Regions from separate parts of the Homo sapiens genome. Here region 2 is linked to region 1. The links are contacts of gene promoters, found by promoter capture Hi-C in human tissues and cell types (Jung and others, 2019). All regions are on one chromosome and are shown on one strand. Each heading gives the region's core, a stretch centred on a gene start or on the middle of the fragment in contact. The rest is flanking DNA. Distances are from core to core; before and after follow the strand shown.

What was found. The method cuts DNA at HindIII sites, captures the fragments that hold promoters and counts their contacts. A contact is called where the count stands out against the background at its distance.
Region 2: a fragment that was not itself captured here is called in contact with the fragment with the promoter of JAK1 in region 1 in 1 of the 25 tissues and cell types used here (H1 embryonic stem cells).

What each region holds. Positions count from the first base shown.
Region 1 is chr1:64,964,041-64,969,804 of GRCh38, reverse strand. It overlaps JAK1 (Janus kinase 1), which reads left to right and starts at 3,256. Exons shown (of 25, transcript NM_002227.4): 1 at 3,256-3,472. RefSeq lists a silencer at 3,032-3,911. The HindIII fragment of the contact is 20,952 bases long and covers 1-5,764 here.
Region 2 is chr1:64,681,531-64,687,843 of GRCh38, reverse strand. It overlaps CACHD1 (cache domain containing 1), which reads right to left. Exons shown (of 27, transcript NM_020925.4): 26 at 5,738-5,839. Among named protein-coding and RNA genes, the nearest start is that of RAVER2, 60 kb to the left of the region's middle. The HindIII fragment of the contact is 5,949 bases long and covers 1,593-6,313 here.

The sequences.
Region 1 (5,764 bases), core at 2,007-4,506:
TATCCTGTTTAGTCGGTGGCATCCAGTCGGTGGCATCCTTGGTCAGCTTATTAACCAATTCAGAAAATTTGGGAGTCATGCGAGATTCCTCTCTCTGCCTCAGTAGCCACATCTAATCAGTCACCAAGCACTGTCCATTCTATCTCCTCAGGCCTTTTGCATCTTCCTCAGTATCCTTCCCCAGTCCACTGCCTTAGATAGGCTGTCATCTCTCGCAGCTTGCAGTTTTACAATGACATGTAATTAATCTCCTTGCCCTCCAATTCATCTTCCACATTATCCCTAGACTAGTGGTTCTCAGTGGGGTGTGATTTTGCACCCCAGGGGACATTTGGCAACGTCTGAAGACATTTTTGGAAGTCACAGCTGGGAAAGGAGGAGGGTGGGGAGTTGCGGGGGGGTGTGATGGGGGAACAAGAGGACTTGCTACTAGCACCTAGTAGTCAGAGGTCAGAGATGCTGCTAAACATCCTACAATGCACAGGACACCCCCACTACAACAAGAATTTTCCAGCCCACAATGTCAATAGTGCTGAGGTTGAGAGCCCTTGCCCTAGGGTGATTCTTCTAAAACAAAAACCTTAAATCTCTCAAAAAAAAAAACCCACTATTTTATTTTAGGCAAAAGTTTTTGCATGGGATTCAACTTTTCTCATTCCCCAGTCACACAGCATATACTTATTTTTTTTTTTTAAGAGAAGGGGTCTCACTCTGTTGCCCAGGCTAAAGTGCAGTGGTGTGATCCTAGCTCACTGCAGCCTCAAACTCCTGGGCTCAAGTGATCCTCCAGCATCAGCCTCCCAAGTAGTCGGAAATACAGGCATGTGCCACCATGCCCAGCTAGTTTACCTTTTTTTTTTTTTTTTTTTTTTTGAGAGGGAGTCTCGCTCTGTCGCCCAGGCTGGAGTGCAGTGGCACAATCTCAGCTCACTGCAAACTCTGCCTCCCGGCTTCAAGCGATTCTTGTGCCTCAGTCTCCCAAGTAGCTGAGATTACAGGTTCCCGCCACCACGTCCAGCTAATTTTTGTATTTTTAGTAGAGATGGGGTTTCGCCATGTTGGCCAGGCTGGTCTCAAACTCCTGACCTCAAGTGATTGGCCCACCTCGGCCTCCCAAAGTGCTGGGATTACAGGCGTGAGCCACTGCACCTGGCCTTTGTTTGTTTGTTTGTTTTTATTTTAGAGACAGGGTCTTGCTGTGTTGCCCAAGTTGGTGTCAAACTCCTGGCCTCAAGCAGTCCTCCTGCCTCAGCCTCCCAAAGTGCTGAGATTACAGGCATGAGCCGCCACACCCAGCCAGCATATACTATTACTGCCTGAATATGCCGCTACCTCCTGACTCCTGCCTCCTGTCGGCTACTTGAAGCTTATTCTGACTTCCTCAGACTCGGCTGGGTGACTGTCTTCTGTGATCACCATTACAGGACCGGGAATCACTGAATTGTTACTTGCCTGTCTCTCTGACTGCATTGAGCATTCAGAGGTCAGGAACCTAGTCTATTTTTTTTTTCTCTGAATCTTCATCACCTAGCACAATGTCTGTTATAGACGAACAGATCTAAACTGAATCCAGGCCCTCTCCCCCTGATTCCACCCTGTGAACAGCCAGATTCGTTCGTGGGCACAATGGGTTCACTGCTGCCTTCCTGACTTTCCTTTTTCTTTACATCCTCACCTGAAATGCTGTTCTTTCACGTCTCTGTCTCCCTTCATGTCAGTCTCACCTGTTCTTTATGGTCCAGCTCAATAAAAACCCCTACCACTTCCTGAGCCCATGCCATGTGGGCTATATTATCATAGTTCACCTTCAGCAAAACCCCTTTAAGGAAGGCATTATCCCTATTTAACAGGTGAAGAAAATGATGCAAACAGCCCTGAGGTGTTGTTCAGAGTGTGGCAGATGAGACAAGACTTGCACACAAACACCCACAATGCAGGCAACCCGGGTTGCCTCCCTGTCTGCTCTGATCTCCGGTCTTCTTTGGTCCTCTTTTCTGTACTTCTGGAAGGCACTTTGGAGATCCTTTTGTCTGCTGCTCCACTGAGAATTGAGTCAACTAAGAATTGTTTAGGGCAACACAGGTGGTTACTGGTGGAGGCCAAACCTCAAATTCAGTAGTCTAATTCGGATGCTTGACTTTATTCCACACCCAGAATATCTTGCTCAGTTTCAGTTGCAGTAACTCAAGTGATCAGGAACTGTCCAGCAGGGTTAGTGAAGTCAGCACAGGTGGGGCAGCCTCTGTCCACAGCCCTGAAGCTGCAGAATTCTGACCGTGCACGGCCTCGGAGGATTTTCATCCAGGGATTGTCAGGGGGAAGTCGCTGGAGTGTTTTAAGCATGGGAGTGTGTGGAACAGATTTGAATTTTTAAAAGTTCATTGTAGAGAATTAATTGGGGGCTGGAGTGAATGGAGTGACGATTTAAGAGATGTTCGTGGTCCCTTCAGGTGAGAGATGGTGGCAGCTCGGACCGTGTTGCCGGAACATAGACAAGTGAACTGATTGGAGAGATACCTAAGGAAATAAAATTGTTAGGATTTGTCCGTGGACTGCCTACGAAGTATGAATCTTGGCTACAGTGTGACCTTGATTAAGACACTAAAGACTTAATTTGTTCCTCATGGATAAGATGATGCTACTACTTTGAGAGGTTATTAGTAAAAAATGAAAAGCGCTGTACATGCATTAGGTATCAGTGAATGTAGTTCTAATTCCTATTATGCATATGCTTTTTTTTTTTTCGTAAAGAGCTTTTAAAATACGGAATGGGTTGGATCTGCAGTAGCTTGTCCAAGCTGGGGGCTGTATTGTTAAATTCTTTTTAGTCTAGTGCTCCACTAGCTCCTCTCCTACTGAGCTGGGGTAAGAAGCGGAGCGTATACGGAGGAGGCGGGATGCATTTCTGCATCGAGCGCACAAAGGTGTGGCGGAGGGGGCTCCAGAGCTGGGAGGGGTCAATCTACGGGCGAATCCTGGCAATTTTACTCCCCGCGATAGATGACCTCGCGTCCTAGATGAGTTTCTAGATTCTAGAATCTAGAGGACGCGGTGAACAGAGACGAGTGGGGGCAGCTTCGCGAGCGAAGCCGGATGGGGGCGGGGCGGGTAGGCCGGAGGCGCAGAGTCTCCGCCGGGACCGCGACCCCGCCCCGCTTTCCGGGGCTGCCGCTGGTGACGTCGCGAGGGGGTGGGCCCGGCGGCCACGGGGGTGGGGCCGGCCGCGGGGCGGGGCGGGGCGGGACGGGAGGCGGTGCGTCGCTGAGCGCAGGCCGCGGCGGCCGCGGAGTATCCTGGAGCTGCAGACAGTGCGGGCCTGCGCCCAGTCCCGGCTGTCCTCGCCGCGACCCCTCCTCAGCCCTGGGCGCGCGCACGCTGGGGCCCCGCGGGGCTGGCCGCCTAGCGAGCCTGCCGGTCGACCCCAGCCAGCGCAGCGACGGGGCGCTGCCTGGCCCAGGCGCACACGGAAGTGGTGAGTGTCACCGGGGGAGGTGGAGGAGCCGGGGCGGCCGCGGTCGGCAGGCGAGGGGCGCGCAGCCCGGACTGGCCGGAGGCGCGGCCACCGCTCTTGGTCGGTCCTTAGGCTGCGCGGCCCGGGCTGCTCCTGAGCGCAGCTCAGGACCCCGCGGCTCGGGCGGGGAAGGCGGGGATTTCCAGCCCCGCGGAGCCGGCGGGCGGCGAGGAGGTCGCCGGGCGGGGGCCCCCGGCCGGGAGAAGAGCGGTTAAGCCAGGCCGCCCCCTCCCCCAGCGCGCACGGCAAGTTTTCATAAACAAGCCCGGAGCGCGCTGTCTGACATCCTGTTTATACCACCCCGAGATACAGGCGCGGGCTGGAGGGCTGACGTCCCTAGCTCCTTGTACCGCGAACTTGACCGCCAGCTCCCGGCCGGGGTGGCAGCGCAGAAAGGTTTTCTTCTTCGGCCCCAGGAAGGAGGCTGAGGGTCTTAGCTTTTTTCCTTCCTTGCGGTCTCAGCGAGGGAAAGTTTCTGGGATTTGGAGCTGGGTGTTGGGCGTCCGCGAACTCGGGAAACGCCCCCTCCCCTCTTAGGTTCTGTTAGGAACCAGGCCTCAGGTAGCCAGCGAGAAGTGGGAAAGGAGACCCTGGGCGAGAGGACCAGGGAAGGGGAACAGTGGGAGAGAACTACCCGGGGAATTGCGAATCCCACTGGAAAGGGACTGATTAACCGAAACTGGGGCTGGTCTCTGGCTCCCTCACTCCAACTCCATCCGCGCATCGTCGGCGACCGGGAGCATCGGAGGACTAATAGACACTCCTCCAAAGTCACTCCCCAGGGTCCCTGGGATGTGGGCTCCTTGGATGTGTGTTTACCACGGAACTTCTAGATAAAAGATGCGATGTTTGCCAGGTGTTTGTGCACACGTTTTTTGGAGGGTTTGCACTCCATGATTTCCTGTGTGTTCCTGGGGAAGGGGACCCCGTCCTTCCTGCCACTCTTCTTACTACGTGGCTGTGAGCTGCCTTCTGCCCCTGGTTGAGTACATCGCTATACATGTCATTGACACTTTTCCCCCCAAGTCATAGGGTTTTTCTCTCACTGGCAGGAATTTACAGTGGTATAAAATTGTCATTACTTCTTTCAGGGAGTAAAACATGGGTAGTTAAGTGATGAGAATAATGCAGAGAGAGATGTAAATCAGGGCGTGTTTGGTTTTGGCTATTTTTTTATTTTTTGAAGAAAAGATTTGAGTTAAATATGGGTATAGGCACAGTAGATTTTGTTTAAGATGAGCAATTCGTATTGATTGAATCTTTGTTCTTCCCTTTCCAAAACCCCATTATGTGTTGTTTCTTGATTTTGCTTTTGGTGACTCTGATGTTTTCCAAGACCAGGGGATTATTTTCATTGAAGGATCAATGTGTTCTTTTGTACTTTGTGGTGAAGATTAATGGAGACCACCAGGGTTCCAGACATTTCTGGTACAATATGCTTTGTAATGTGGAGAAAATGTCTCCCCTGTATAGATCCAGATCACATTTAAAGATGTGAAGACATCATACTGGAATGACTTTGGACATTATAAATAGGAATAATCATAACCTCTTCTTAATTCTGTATATCATATTAACTAAGTGCTTTGACTGAGTCTTAGTTTCTGCAAATAGATACAAAACTATGTTTTTTTACTGCTAGGATTGCAGTGTGATACTCCACACTGAATACAGCCAGTTTAAATGGTTTCCTCCATTTCATACTATACTAATTATTTACTACCATTGGGAAATGATTGTAGAGAATGCATAAATTAGATATAGGTAAAATAATTCAAACATTTCCTAAAATATAACTACATTTCAGTTGTTGTAATTTAGGATCTTAACATGAGCTTGGCTAAAGCCATATACTTCCGACTGAAACAAGCATTGAGAACGTGTAGGTTGATACTCATTTGTGTAGAGAGAACAAGAGAACACTAAGGTATAACTGCATAGCAAAGACCATGATCTGTGTTTTCTAATTCTCAGATTCCTCTGGTGTTTTTTTCCCCTCAAAGACACATCCCATTTTGTATGTCCTTATGTCCTGATAAGATAATAGCATGCTGTTAGAAGATTTATTGTCTGAGATGTGAATATTCATACAAATAAATTTTTCTTGTTCATTTTCACATTTAAAACCATTATTTTAAGTGGATGGGGAATTGGCTTATTAATGGAATCTCGCTGAAGAAGGAACATTGGATGTTCTGTGATTATTGTGGCTCAGTGGTATATGGAACCTTGTCATTGAACAGGAGTGTTGGA
Region 2 (6,313 bases), core at 3,318-5,817, 280 kb after region 1:
AACACAGTGACTCACACAAAGCAGGAACTTAAAAACAACTGCTGCCCCACCCCCCACCAACGCACACTATACTCTCAAAGCAACAGCATCAGTGAATTTTGTAGTTACCTGTGGCTTTGCCTGGTACAACATTCACTAGTCTCATCTAATAATGCAGACATTCTAGGATACACTGGACTCTGTCCATGGGTTATGACAGAGTCCAGTGACACTCTGAACCTGGCTGGTCACAGGTCCTGGGTTCACATCCAGGACGGTAGTGATGGTGCAGCTGTCTCCAAGGCAACTCAGGAGGGCACCCATCTCTTCATCTCAGGATGGCACCCCCATCTCTTCTGCTACTGCTTTCTGATAGGAACCTCAACAGAGGTGCTTTCAGAGTAAAACTCTCATACTAAGGGCATTCCATTTAATTTCCTTACTATGATACCATTGCTCAACTCCTCTGTAACTTCCTCTTATTTCAATCATTAATGGAAATCTGAAGAGGTCAGGGGAGAAGGGAATAGCAAGTTGTGGAAAAGCAGGAGAAAGACAAACACATTTTCGTATTCAACAAATTAATTGTTTACTCAGTGCCAGGCAGTTCTGCTGAGCACTGGGAAGGGTGATGAATTAAGACAGACATAGTCCCTGACTCATGGAGGAAGACGCACTATTTGAAACACAAAGGATATTTGCAAACACTTTCAAGGAAAAATTTATTTACTATCCAAAGGCTTATGTAGCAAAGTGTCTGCAAATACAATCTCAAGTGGGAAATGGGCTTTAGAAAGGAGGTCAGGCATCTATCAAAAAGAGCCGAGATTAGGTTTTTGTTCTTTGACAGTCTGCTTATATATTTATCTGATAGTTCCTAAGAAACTTTGTTTGATTATAAGGGGTGTGACGTCCCTCTGGGGACTCACTCACCATCTCGTGGCCACAGAGAGTAACTGCAGGAGAATGTTTGTGCACCTCTAGAAAATGGTCTTACGTTCATCTACAAAGTTTTTTGACCAGGTTTTTAAGGTTCAGCATTTGCTTTTTAAGTATTTTGGAATTTGCCACAAACTAGGGAGAAATCTTCCTCTACAAAGAAAAAAATGTTGCCTAATATACACTTACATAAAGTTTCTGATGAGATAGTAACCAAAATACAAATTCACAAGGAACAAATAACGTACAGGTGTTTTTTGACTTAAAAATAAGCCAATAGATGATTGGACAGAACATGATATTTTTAAGAGAAATGGGCAAAGCAGATAGATAGTTGAAAACACACACAGGTAGTAATTGTTTCTAACCTCCACTTGTGAGGGTAACACTGCTGAAAATCAATCATTCTAAGTGGTCTTAGACTATGGGCCAAAATGATTCTACTTTCAAAAAACATTCTCAATTGGAGTAGTTTTTCTTAAGATACAACAATTAAAATTAGATTCTTTTGAAAAACGAAATTCTGTTGGCCACATAAAATATTTCTAAATAAAAATACACCCTAAAGTTTCTAAGTTTAGTTTGGTAACATTCAATTTTCATTCAATTCTAGGATCACAACTCTGAACTCATACCATGAGAGCCGAGGCCGTTGTGTAGTCATGTATTTATAGACTTAATTCTTTTGAGTTTCCTTTTGTGTAACACACTCAAGGATTCACATGGAAATACGCTTATCAGGGAGCAGAGAATCATGACGCCACAATCCTACCAGTTCAAGGGCCAGTCAATGCCATGTTCCTCCATGGGGTTTCCCATAATTTACTCGCAGATAAAAGTGAACTCTCACCCCTTTCCTTCTTTGTTTTACTCTTTTAAGGAAGCTGTCATATTCCACCTTTTATCAAGCATATGAATACATGCATTCATTTATAGCTTCCTCCTAGACTGTAAATTTCTTCAGGGCAGGGTGGGCACAGAGGTAGGGAGGTCAACCCTGAGCACCGTGCCTATCATATGTCATTTCATTTCATCCTCATTGCAACTCCACCCAGCATTTTTTTTTTCTTTTTTTTTTGAGACAGCCCTGTCTCAAAGAGCTCAAAGAGTTCTTGGCTAGAGTGCAGTGGTGCTAACATGGCTCACTGCAACCTTGACCTCCTGGGCTCAAGTGATCTTCCCACCTCAGTCTCCCGAGTAGCTGGGACTACAGGCACGTACCACCATGCCTGGCTAATTTTTTTATTTTGTAGAGACAGGGTCTCACCATATTGCCCAGACTGCAGTAAAAATTTTTAATCCTACCTTAAGTGTTAGGAAACTCAGGTCTAAGGTAGCTCACTAAGGTCTCAACAGCTTGTGGAAAAAAAAGGGGGAGAAGTAGGCTTCAAAGTGAACTGGCTTTACCCTATCTCCTAAGCTCTTCCTCTACACCAAGCTGTCTTGAGGAAGTAACAACTCCCATCTGTAGCCCCCTCCACCTCCACAGTGTACAAGGGTACAGTCATGTCTTGTGTAATGACAGAGATACATTATGAGAAATGTGTCCTTAGGTAATTTCATCATTGCACAAATGTCACAGAGTGTACTTTCACAAACCTAGATGATACAGCCTACTACACACCTCGGCTATATGGCATAGCCTATTCTTCTAGGCTACAAACCTGTGCCACATGTTACTGCACTGAATACTGTAGGCAACTAAAACACAATTGTACACAATACTGTAGGTAATACTATAGGTATTTATATATCTAAACATAGAAGAGGTACCAGAAAAATACCGTATAAAAGATTTTTTAAAATGGTACACCTGTGGCCGGGCGCAGTGGCTCACGCCTGTAATCTCAACACATTGCGAGGCTGGGGTGGGCGGATCACCTGAGGTTGGGAGTTCGAGACCAGCCTGACCAACATGGAAAAACCCAGTCTCTTCCAAAAATACAAAATTAGCCGGGCATGGTGGCATGTGCCTGTAATCCCAGTTACTTGGGAGGCTGAAGCAGGAGAATCGCTTGAACCCAGGAGGTGGAGGTTGTGGTGAGCCGAGATCGCACCATTGCACTCCAGCCTGGGCGACAAGAGCAAAACTCTGTCTCAAAACAAAAAACAAAAAACAAAAAACAAAAAAGGTACACCTATATAGAGCACTTACCATAAATGGAGCTTGCAGGATTGGTAGTTGTTCTGTGTGAGCCAGTGAGTGACTGGTGAGTGAATGTGAAGGCCTAGGACATCAGTGTACACTACTGTAGACTTTATAAACACTATATATTTAGGCTACTCTAAATTTATTAAACTTTTTTCTTTCTTCAATAATAAACCTTTGCTTACTGTAACTTTTTTGCTTTATAAACTTTTAAACTTTTAAAACTTTTTGACTATTTTGTAATAACAGGTTAAAATACAGACACATTGTACAGCTGTGCAAAAATATTTCCTTTTGTTATATCCTTATTCTATAAGCTTTTTTCTAGTTTAAAAATTTTTACATTTCACTTTTTAAACTCCTTCATTAAAAAACTAAGACACAGTGTCTCCAAAAAAAAAAAAAAAAAAAAAGAAGAAGAAGAAGAAGAAAAAACAAAGAAAATCCACGAATATGACTAAATGGCGATAAAATACCAAAAAAAATTTTTACCACAAATGAGATCCTTGATATGTAAGGAATGATACAGTTTTGAAGTGCAGTGAGCTGAGATCGCACCTTTGCACTCCAGCCTGGGTGACAAGAGCGAGACTCCGTCTCAAAAAATAAAGCACACACACAAAAAAACTAAGACACAAACACACACATTAGCCCAGGCCTACACAGGGTCAGGATCATCAAGATATCACTAGGCAATAGAAATTTTTCAGCTCCATTATAATCTCATGGGACCCCTGTAGTATATGCGAAGTGTTGTTATGCAGTGCATAACTGTGCATAGCAGATGCCAATACATCCACCAAATAGGAGAGTAGAGCATACACAGATGAGCAAGAAGTGTGCCAACAAAACAATTAGATTTCCTTGTTTAATGGGTGTATGTAGCTTTGCCTCTAGGCATCACAGGGACATTAACTCAATGTCACCATTTTTAGTGACCCACGTACTGGTTCAAAGGATGCCAACACGCATTTAAATTCTATTGATTTTATGATGCATTTGGAATATGGGGAGTGTCAATGCCTTCCCCTTCTTTTGGTGTTGCATTCTGTCTGCATGAGAAACTATTTTTCATACCTTGGGGATAACATGGATCCAATTATGGAGAAAAATGAAAGGAACCAAGCCCTTAGCTGGATGCCTTAGTGTTCAGATACTGACACTGCACCCTTCCTTTTATCTAAGCTGTTGCTTCATATGCCATTTTACTGAGACAATGGGAGAGGCTAATGGAACGTCATAAACATCACTCAGAATCCTAATTTGGTATTGATGCAATTCCTATTGAGGAACAGAGAGAAAAAGGATTCAGTATTTCAGAGAGAGAAAAGGATTCAGTATTTCTGCTGAATAAGAAATTATTTCTGTTGAACTTTAGTAGCCTCAAACCTGTTTTATTATTCAAACGAGAAGGCACAGAACTGCCTGGCAGCAGGAATTTATGCAAGTTCAAAGGTTTGTAGAGAAAAAAGCAAAAAAGTCAAAGAAACTGAGAAATTTAAGTTCTGCTGTGGTTCTCCATAGAAACCTGAAGTTTCTATTTAGTTGGTGGGAATAATGTCATTCAAAGCCCAAATTAACAGTCTCCAATTTATAAAACAGAGCTTTAGCTGCTCTTATTTGCCAAAGGGAGTTTGAAGACCTGGCTGTAGTGTAAATGGTGACGTTGGTTGCTCTGAGGAGTATCTATTTTTGCATTTTTTAGTGTAGATACAGGGAATACAAGGTTTGAGGACTTTTTTTTTCCAGGATAGGTGTGGAAAAAGCTAAGTCAAAAAGGCTTAAATACACTATTTATGTATTTAAAAAAGGACTTGATTCTAGGAGGAAAATACAGATTTCTGGAAAATTAAACAGCTATCTTAAAAAAAAAAAAAGATTTTACAATGGCAGGAAAAACACTACCCACATCTGTTATATTTTTGTGGAACTGTGGCAGTGATGCTTATAGACTGGGATACATCTGCTGTTCTTTGCAACAATGAGCGATATGGACTCTGAGAAGGAGAGAAGCCATGTGGGATGGCCAAGTCTTTGGCAGAGTAGGTGGATTTCATAAGTTACCTAGCACTCGGCGCCTCTTCATGATTTGGCCTTGACCCTTCCTGAGCATCTTACAGGCACTTACACAACTCCATGACTTTGTAAACACTGGTCCTTTGGCCTCTAATATTCTTTGCCCCTACCTTTTCTTTAATCACCCCCTCAAGGCTCAGTGCAAATGTTGCTTCTTGCTTCTTTGGTGAAGCCTTCTCTGAGCTCCCCAGACCATGCCAGAGGTCAGGGCAAGAGAATGCTGGAGGACAGCACAGATTCTTGTCATGCCCCAAGGGGACATGACTGAAAAAGCCCTTAAAGATCCTGCTGTTTGCCAGCCAACACTGGAGAGCGGGACCTAAGAGGATGCTGATTTTATGGAAAAGCAAGTGGGATGGCAAGCAGGCTCCATTTAAACAATATGAATCCTTCTGTATGGAGAAAAACTTGAAAGCAATCTGTGTGCCCAGAGGAGTGCTGAGACATAAGTAAAACTGTCCTCGGGCTCTTATAAACCAGTGGCATGCTGGGGTGTGTCTTTTTGGAAAACCATGTCAAAATAGGGTGTGAGCATCATCCCACAGGAGTACATGAGGTTCCTTGGGTCTTCAAATGCAGGAAGCTAGACCTTACCATGATCACTTTCTGTTCCTGATCGACCCCAGTAGCGGCGCCTTCTTTCTGGACTGTGTGCATGTCGTTCGATGACCGCAGCTATAAACCGAGTGTTGCTGACTGTAGGAAGCCAAGGACAGTTAATGTCACTCTTATGCCAGTATCTCCATTGTTTCAAACACATTTGCTCTGAGAGGGCTCATTTACATGCTGGGAGAATTCTCTTTGGAAAGCCAGAATAAATCATTTTTTAAACAATTCTGGGGATTGGGGTGCTGATTTTAGAACTGGTGCAGTGAGAGGTATTTAATTATATATCTCCAACGTGCATCAGGAAGCTATGGTCTAGTAGCTGAAGGCCAGGGTGTCTTAACACTAATGGAAATCTCTTTTGATAAAGAAAATGCTCTTTTTTCCTCCCTGAGTTGTACATACTAGTTAAGGGATTTTTTAAAAAATGCATACCTGAAACTTCCTTTTCTAAAATACTATGGTTGGAAAATAATGAGCAAGAGAAACAAAGGAAAGGGTGAGCTGTTTTAGGCCAACACACTTAATGCAAAAAAAAAAAAAAAAAAAAAAACACAATAAAAT